Linked DNA regions of Homo sapiens: regions 1 and 2 are each linked to region 3. Evidence: promoter capture Hi-C in human tissues and cell types (Jung and others, 2019). All regions are on one chromosome and are shown on one strand. Each heading gives the region's core, a stretch centred on a gene start or on the middle of the fragment in contact. The rest is flanking DNA. Distances are from core to core; before and after follow the strand shown. Region 1 overlaps LINC00839 (long intergenic non-protein coding RNA 839). Region 2 has its middle 100 kb from the start of LINC00839. Region 3 holds the start of BMS1 (BMS1 ribosome biogenesis factor).

The links. The method cuts DNA at HindIII sites, captures the fragments that hold promoters and counts their contacts. A contact is called where the count stands out against the background at its distance.
Region 1: a contact is called between a fragment that was not itself captured here and the fragment with the promoter of BMS1 in region 3, in 1 of the 25 tissues and cell types used here (thymus).
Region 2: a contact is called between a fragment that was not itself captured here and the fragment with the promoter of BMS1 in region 3, in 1 of the 25 tissues and cell types used here (spleen).

Annotation. Positions count from the first base shown.
Region 1 is chr10:42,493,647-42,496,369 of GRCh38, reverse strand. It overlaps LINC00839 (long intergenic non-protein coding RNA 839), which reads right to left. Exons shown (of 5, transcript NR_026827.1): 5 at 1,033-2,355. Among named protein-coding and RNA genes, the nearest start is that of LINC00839, 20 kb to the right of the region's middle. The HindIII fragment of the contact is 5,604 bases long and covers 1-2,723 here.
Region 2 is chr10:42,371,436-42,374,531 of GRCh38, reverse strand. No RefSeq gene overlaps it. Among named protein-coding and RNA genes, the nearest start is that of LINC00839, 100 kb to the left of the region's middle. The HindIII fragment of the contact is 4,474 bases long and covers 1-3,096 here.
Region 3 is chr10:42,781,194-42,784,291 of GRCh38, reverse strand. It overlaps BMS1 (BMS1 ribosome biogenesis factor), which reads right to left and starts at 1,497. Exons shown (of 23, transcript NM_014753.4): 1 at 1,462-1,497. RefSeq lists an enhancer at 1,317-1,666. The HindIII fragment of the contact is 8,695 bases long and covers 1-3,098 here.

The DNA of each region.
Region 1 (2,723 bases), core at 133-2,632, 290 kb after region 3:
TTTTATAGCACTAAAGGAAGGGTATTGTTCTACACCTATAGTGATTTTTTTCCCAAGCTTTAATGCACACTCTGTTAAGCTGCTCTGTGGCATCATCCTGCATGACCCCTTGGACATCTAAACTAGCCCAGTTGCCAACCCCCAAAAGTTGGTCTGCAGTTATACTAATTTGAGGTTGGGCCTGGGCATTGCAAGCAGCCTGAATGGCAGTTTCATCTGCCCACGAAGTTTTAAATTTTAAGAACTGAGCAGGAGTTAGACAAGCTCGAGTAAGAGCATCCCAGTCAGTAGGAATCATCCAACTGGAAACAGCAACATTCTTTAACAGTCCCATTACAAAAGGAGAACCTGGTCCATACTGATTTATAGCTTGTTTAAATTCTTTGAGTAATTTAAAAGGAAAAGGCTCAAATGTAGCTATAATATTTCCCTGTTGATCTGGGGGTGGTGTATTCTAACAGGGAACTGCCAAGCCTCTAAATCACCCTCTCATCTAGCTTGCTGAATTCCTGCGTGAATAGAACTAAGAGCAGTCGCTTGAGGTGCTGCTCAAACAGTCACTGGGGCAACTACTTTTCGCCCAGTGTCCTCTGGAAAAGAAAGATCTTGAAAGTCATTTTCTTCAAAATAATCATGAGGGGGTGCAGAAGGGTAAGGATGAATCTCTCCCTCCTTTGCTGCTTTAGCTTTAGCTGGTAAATAAATGTGCTCTGTACTCTCTTCTGTTACTTCATTAAACTCTCCTTCCTCCTCATCATCCGTGTGAAAAAGTTCCAAGGTGAAACAAACCAGACCCCAAACGTGTCCCATTGTTACCCTGACGCTTCCGAGCGCCCCTTCTTACTCACCAAGGAGATTGCTTTAAGAGTATTCACATGTCCTTCAGCTAGTTTTCCTTTCCAAATGTTGCTCCGGTGACCCTTCAACCTGGATTTGAGCCCCCACAATGGACTCCACTTGCTGAGACCAGCTCGGTCAGGGAGACCCTAACCCAGCAGTGCTAGAGGAATTAAAGACACACACACAGAAATATAGAGGTGTCAAGTGGGAAATCAGGGGTCTCACAGCCTTCAGAGTTGAGAGCCCCAAACAGAGATTTACCCACGTATTTATTAACAGCAAACCAGTCATTAGCATTCTTTCTATAGATATTAAATTAACTAAAAGTATCCCTTATGGGAAACGAAGGGATGGACTGAATTAAAGGAATATGTTGGGCTAGTTAACTGCAGCAGGAGCATGTTCTTAAGGCACAGATCACTCATGCTATTGTTTGTGGCTTAAGAATGCCTTTAAGTGGTTTTCCACCCTGGGCAGGCCAGGTGTTCCTTGCCCTCATTCCTGTAAATCCACAACCTTCCAACTTGGGCGTTATGGCCATTATGAACATGTTATAGTGCTGCAGAGATTTTGTTTATGGCCAGTTTTGGGGACAGTTTATGGCCAGATTTGGGGGGGCCTGCTCCCAACAGCCCTCATATTTTATTGGTGAAAAGGCAGATCCCAAGAGACAATGAAAAAGATACTTGATTTCTACTGTAGGGTTGATCCTGGAACAATCTGGGCCTGAACTGTGCAGGTCCACTTACAGAGGATTTTTAAAAACAAATGCAGTAGGTCCGTATGGGCAGTTTCCACATTTGAAACCAAACGTGGTAGGAAAATACAGTATTGGTCAGGTTCCAGGCCTACATGCACAGAGGGTTGACTTTTCCTACCCACAGGCTCCACAAGGCTGATTTCAGGACCTGGGCATACATGCATATGTGCCGAGACCAGCTTGGTCAAGGAGACCCCAACCCAGTGGTGCTAGAGGAATGAAGACAAACACACAGAAATAAAGTGCAAAGTGGGAATCAGGGGGAAAACAGCCTTGAGAGCTGAGAGCCACAAACAGAGTTTGACCCACATGTTTATTGACAGCAAGCCAGTGATAAGCATTGTTTCTATAGGTTACAGATTAGCTAAAAGCATTCCTTACGAAAAACAAAGCATACTTAGAGAGGAGTAGAGAAACAGTCTCTGGCCGATTATCTGCAGCAAAAACATGTTGTTAAGGCTCAGGCCACTCATGCTGTTGTTTGTGGTTTGAGCAGTTTTCCGCTCCGGGTGGGCCAGGTGTTCCCTACCCTGCTCCAGTAAACTAACAACTTCTAGCAGTGGGCGTCATAGCCATCAGGAGCACGTCACATTCGTGCAGAAATCCTGTTCATGGTCAGTTTAAGGCCTGTTTATGACAGGCTTAGGGCCTGTTCCCAGCATGTCCCCTTTTCTGTTTTTGCAAAGCGATAAAAGCAAAGGCAGCTTCGTCATGGTGGGCTACTTCTCGCAGGATTCGGGATCCACATCTGCAGACTACACAAAGACAAACAATACAGATTAAAGGCACAATCATCATTGAAATCACAAAGTCTCCAAGTGTCTTGATCCACTTGTATGGGTGAATAGCTGCTAATCCATCTGCAGCTCCTTCAAGCACTTTAGTTCCTGTCATTAATGTCAGATGTGCCTGAGAGGCTTGAAATATGTGTTCCTTCAGTTTTGCAATATCCAAAGATAAATTTCCAGTATGATCCTTTAAATGTCTCTTAACTCTTTCCCACTCATGCTCTGTTTCATTATACAGGTGAGGAGTAATGCAAAAATCAGAAGTATTTCAATCACATTGTTAACTGCATTCTATATTTTAAACTAACTACATGATCTCCCAACCATACGATAGT
Region 2 (3,096 bases), core at 439-2,938, 410 kb after region 3:
AAGTGATTCTCCTGCCTCACCCTCCCAAGTAGCTGGGACCACAGGCGCCTATCACCATGCCCAGCTAATTTTTGTACTTTTAGTAGAGACGTGGTTTCACCATGTTGGCCAGGCTGGTTTTGAACTCCTGACCTCAAATGATCCACCCACCTCAGCCTCCCAAAGTGCTGGGATTACAGGCATAAGCCACTGCGCCCAGCCACCAACTGTGTATTTAAGTATGACCATTTTAAGTCATATCTATAGTTACTGACTTAATTCTGATGCAGTTTCTAAAAACTTCACAAGCACACAAAATATTAGAGTGTTATGTCTTTAAGGAGGTCATGAAAAGAGTGGTAAGAACCCAGACATGTTGCATACAGGTTTTAGATAACTTTAGGATTGTATCATTTGGACTGGGTAACAACCCTCAGAACTCTAATGAAGGGAATGACTTATAAAACTCCTAATCAAAGCGAGACAAAAATTAATTGAATACCAAGAAAATGTTTTGCCAGATTTTCATACTAAACTAGCCAGTGCTGAGATTGTTTAGATATGCAATTTGAATGAACTCTGTGGTTCAAGTCAAATTCCCTATGATAAGCCATCAGTTATTAGTGCTATGCATCTAAATTGGAGAAACAAACCTGGTATTTAAAAGGACATGAATCCACTGTTAAACATGAACTTGTGGAGAAGCTAGACAGCTACCTGGTTTTTCCTGAGTCTTCAAGGCTTTTATTATTAAAAGCTCTGCATTTCATGACTCATGGAAGAGAAAAAATAATCCAAATTAAATAAATTAAATGTGTGTGTGTGTGTCATGTATGTATGGTGATTGTTTTAAATTGCTAACATAGTTTATAACCATTGTTTGGTTTATCAAATCTATAATTCTAGGAAGACAATTAAAACTTCATGTATATTTTTGAAACCTGATGGGTCATTTAAACATTTGTACACAGGTTTTATTCAATTGTCATTTTCAATGCATGTTTTCTGGTTGTATAAAAACTTTCCCATGCAAGAAGGCTGATGTTACAACAGTAACTAAAATGTTATTAGAAAATATGTTTTTTCATTGGACATTTCTGATAAAACCTTCAATGATAGAAGTACTTATTTCACTGGAAAAGTTGTAAAACTGTAAAATGAATTATTACAGATGCTACAGCATTAAGCAAGGATAACTGAATTGACTGGATTACCTTGGTCAAATGTATTGCAGATTGATGACAATCTGATCCACTTAGTGTGGACAACATCAGTTGACCCTTAAGAAATACTCATTGGAAGGTCCATTCACTTAATAATAGAACTGCATGTATTTTCTGTTACTAAATTGTGATGTGGTTTAATGCAGCAAGGCTTTAATGCATTATGCCAAGGCATATTTTTTTCCAGGTAAAGAAAGCTTTTAATGGTCCACCAACTGAAGGACAATAATCCCATTATAATCTATAACCAAGATACTGAATATCTCCTTTTTATCCACACTGTGGCAGAACTTTGGGACCTTGAACCCCTGGGTTTATAATCTTACATTTCAGAAGGTCCTCTCCAGATTCTTGGAATTTTATTTAACTTAATCAATTAATTAATTTATTTTTGAGACAGAGTCTCGCTTTGTCGCCAGGCTGGAGTGCAATGGCGTGATCTCCCTGGTTCAAGTGATTCTCCTGCCTCAGCCTCCTGAGTAGCTGGGATTACAGGCACGCACCACCACGCCCAGCTAATTTTTGTATTTTTAGTAGAGAGGGGTTTCACAATGTTGGCCAGGATGGTCTTGATCTCCTGACCTCATGATCCGCCCACCTTGGCTTCCCAAAGTGCTGGGATTACAGGCATGAGCCACTAAGCCCTGCCAGAATTTTATATACATCAGAGACCTTTAGGTAAAGCTAACCAGATAAATTTGTCCTCAGAAGCAGATGACATTCTTAACACAGCATTTTCTCTAAGATTATGAATCAAAACTTCTCTGCTGTCATGAGACTCTTAGCTCTGTTTTTTCCTGCTTATGGCCCTACAAACAATAGAAATAAAAAAGCAGTCTTTTGTCCCCTCATGGAGTATACTATCTATGCAGAGGATTTTGCAGCCAACTTTATACATGGACAAACTTATGCCTTGAGAGATGAAAGATGAAGGGCCAGTGTGGGTGAGAAATATTAATGGGACTTTTTTTCCTTATAATATCAGAAAAGGAACATTGGCCCACTGCTCTTAACCTACTTACTTCATAGGTTAAATAGAAATTTTTCAGTATAAAGGGCATTGCCAGAAGGCCTTCACTCTTCTGGATGGGTATCAATTGTTAGATTTCTTTTTTCATGGTTTAGAGTAAATAACGCAATGATTAGTAATTTAACCCCCATAATAGGCTCTGTAGCAGATTCTACTGTAAAGGCTACACAACAGACTTTAAATTCTGTTGTGAACATTGTGCTAAGTATAGAATTATGTGCTTACTGGACAAACAGAGAAGTATCTGTGCAGTTACTGATACTTGTAGTTGCACATAAAAGAATACTTTGGATATTACAGAGATTCAGTTGTCTGGAATTAATAAACAAACTACTTGATCAAAATCAGTAGTAAACCCTTTATTTAGCTCATTCTTTGATCTATTTAATTTTAGTTGGTTCGTTTCATGTGATCCCTGGCCAAAATGCATACTCCAAACTCTTGGTATTTTTCACTTGGTAGTCTCCCTGGTGCACTGTATTCTCTCAAAAGCTATAAATGTTTGCATGCAGCCATCTCTCGAATGTCAAATAGTTCCTTTTTAACTGGAATCACAAATTCAAAGAAATATGTAACCATGAGGACACAGTAACCTGTGAATGATGTGATGAGACTGGAAACCCAAAACCATGGTAACTGAGAGTGGCGCTAAGGCCCTGAGTTTTGGCCACACTCTCACTGAAGTAAGAACCTGATTTTAAGAAAGGTGGGTTTTGGCCGGGCGCGGTGGCTCACATCTGTAATCCCAGCACTTTGGGAGGCCGTGGCGGGCGGATCACGAGGTCAGGAGATCAAGACCACGGTAAAACCCTGTCTCTACTAAAAATATAAAAAAATTGCGAGACTCTGTCTCAAAAAAAAAAA
Region 3 (3,098 bases), core at 248-2,747:
ACAGTAAATTTCATTTATTTCTTTATGAAGAGATGATGTATTTGTTCACTGAACAAGGGTAGAAACTGCTTAACCATCCCCAATTTCATTTCTCTCTGTTATGCTATAAATTAGATGAGTTACCTCTCTTAAGATTACATTTTATGGTTAAGTTACTTTTTATTCATCTTAAGTGTCAACATCAGCAGTATCTATTTCTGCAAGGATAGAAATATACTATATCTGTACTTTTCAGCCATTTAGCCATTAGCCACATGTGGTTACTTACAATATACTTAGGGAAACTGAAAAAATGAGTTTTTAATTAATTTCATTCTAACTCCAAATAGTCACATGTGGCTACCATACTGGACAGCTCAGACCCAGGTATCAACTGGACTGATGAAGTGGTTTCCTAACTTAAACTAAAACTTAAATTTTAATAAAAAAATGTGAAACGTTTTTATGAACCTCCAATATGATCGCAGTATTACTTTTAGTACCTGTTGACTCTGTAAAACTCCTAAATTACAACTTATCTACATACATTTGAAAAATAGAAATAGCTGTACGTGTGAGATAGGACTGGTTCTAGATGACACCTGGAGACCCCATGAACTTACAGAGACCCTTCCAGTGATTTCTGAGTTACCTGGGAATCTGTGGCTAATAAATTGGCAATCACTGAATTAGTGAGTTATTTTAGGAAATCGGGCTGCATAAAATCTGACAGCTTGATTAAAAAAAAAAAGCGGAGCAGGATGCCATTTCATTCAATTAAGGTACTGTATTCATTCCGTTGAATAAATATTTGTGTCTGTCTACGATGTGCTAGGCACTGTGCCAGTAAGTGGATACAGCTATTATCTGACTTGCAGAGGAAATCCAAACTATTATCTTCCGCGCCACGCAATAAGGGCGACATTGGAAGGCTGCACAGGGTGCTACTGGAGCACGGAGGTGAGTCAGAGGCTTCCCACAGACACACACCAGCGGAAACAAAGTCTTTATGTATTACCATAATGTCAAGAACACTGGCCAGGAGTTAGGAGAGCTGGGCGCTAGGAACGCTTTGAAACCGAATAGCTGTGTGATTTCAGAGATTATGTTTCTTCTCTGCTATATTTTAGTTCAGCACTTGTACTAATGTTTCTCTCCCTGTCTTTCTTCTTGGTGGGAAAAGCACAATTTGGGGTCAACAGATCCAGCTCAGGTCTAAGTCTCCTACCGGGACCACGTCGCCAGGAAACGACGTCGCCCAGCCACCTTCCCTCCCCGTCTGGGCTCTCTGCAGGGATTCATCACGTCACTCACCCAACTACCCCAGGACACCTCCGCCAGATGAGAAATATGCCGCTCCTCGGGAGCAAAGATGACCCGGAGGACCGGGGGAGGACCTTCCCACACGCACGACTCGCGATCTTCCCAGTGCCCCAGAACCAGGGACCCCACCGCCGCCTACCCCAACCCGCAGCACCGAACCTGCTCGCAGCCGCGACTCCTCAGGTCAGCATGGACACCGCCGGAAACGGAAATTCACAGTCGCGCTGACTCGCCGGAGGGAAACAAGAAGGCAGAAAAAAGAGACCGGCATGGGGACGGCTTTCAGGGGAGAGCCTGAAGAAAGAGGGCTGAACAGCTGAGTGCGGACGCAGGCGCCGTCCGCGCAGTGCGTTCCACCGGGTCCAGGTCCTTCCAGATTCCTCTCCACCCCGCCCTCGGAATCCGCGGCCTCAACTTCCGCGGTGGGACTCCGGAGCAGCGTGCGCCGCGCTCGCCTGAGTTCTCGCCGAAGGCCAGGGCGGCTCTGCGGCCTGGCGCCGGTTAGTTAGTGTGGTGCAAAAGCCGGAAGGAGACACATTTGGTCCTGGCCTCCCGGCAGTCACCGTGCCAAGGACGAATGGACTATCGCTTGATTTGGAGTACACTTCCTCCTCTTTAAAGATTACAGATGAGGGGGATCTCGCGTTCTGGGGTGCCCTAAAGCCCTCTTTTGGCAGGGCGCAGTGGCTCACGCCTGTAATCCCTACACTTTGGGAAGCCGAGGAGGGAGGATTGCTTGAGCCCAGGAATTCAAGACAAGCCTGGGCAACATAGGGAGCCTACCTCTCTCTCTTAAAAAAAAAAAAAAAAAAAATTAGCCGGCATCGTGCCGGGCGCCTGTGGTGCTTGTGGTCCCAGCTACTCTGGAGGCTGAGGTGGGAGGATCGCTTGATCCCAGGAGGCGGAGTCTGCAGTGAACTGAGATGAGCCACTGGACTTCAGCCTGGGCAACAGAGCAAGACACTGTCTCTAAGAAAAATAAATAACATAAGGCCCTCTTTTGCCAGGACCAACAAACCGTGAGGGCAGGGACAAACTGACCCAGCCTAAACTGCCTCGCCCTCCCTAAACCCGGGAAAGGGGCTTTACCTGAGTGAACGTAGCATCTTGCCGTTTTCTTACTGCACAGCTTTACCTTCCCAGGGATCCGCCCATTGCCACCTGAGGAAATGCCTTGGAGTCCATCTAATCCCCAGCCCAGCTACTTGGGAGCCTACAGAGCGTACATTGTCAGAGGATGCATCTTCCTTTAGTCTTGGAGGGTTTCTTTTCAATATGATCCCGCTGGTGCATTCAAGGCTCAATTCTACACCAAAAACTAGGCCCACTCCTGTCACGAGAACCCCAGGCGTCAGGTCTTCTCACAGGCACCTTGTTCTTGCCCTCAGCAGCCCCCAGGTATTCACTCTGCATATTCTAGATACTGGGTGCTGGACTTGGGAGGCTACCCACGTGGCACATGCTTCCCTTATCCCTGAAGAGCTTAGAGTGTTGTAACTTCTTCACACTACACCTCTTACTTCTTGAAGATTTCAGTATCCAGGTAGATAATCCTTCCAACATCCTTTTGGTCTCATGAAGCCCACTCCTGTCCTCTGCCCTACCTCAGCTTCCCCCTCCCTCCATGATCAGACCTTAGACCTTGTCAGGTCCAAGGACTGCAACCCCCACAGTATCCCACTCTGACCAGGTCTATCTATCCTCCTATCTGTCCAGGTCACTCCCTATACTGCCCTGAAACAAAACTCCTGCAACCTTACCAGCACCTCCAATCAAGATCTTACTACTTGTTCACT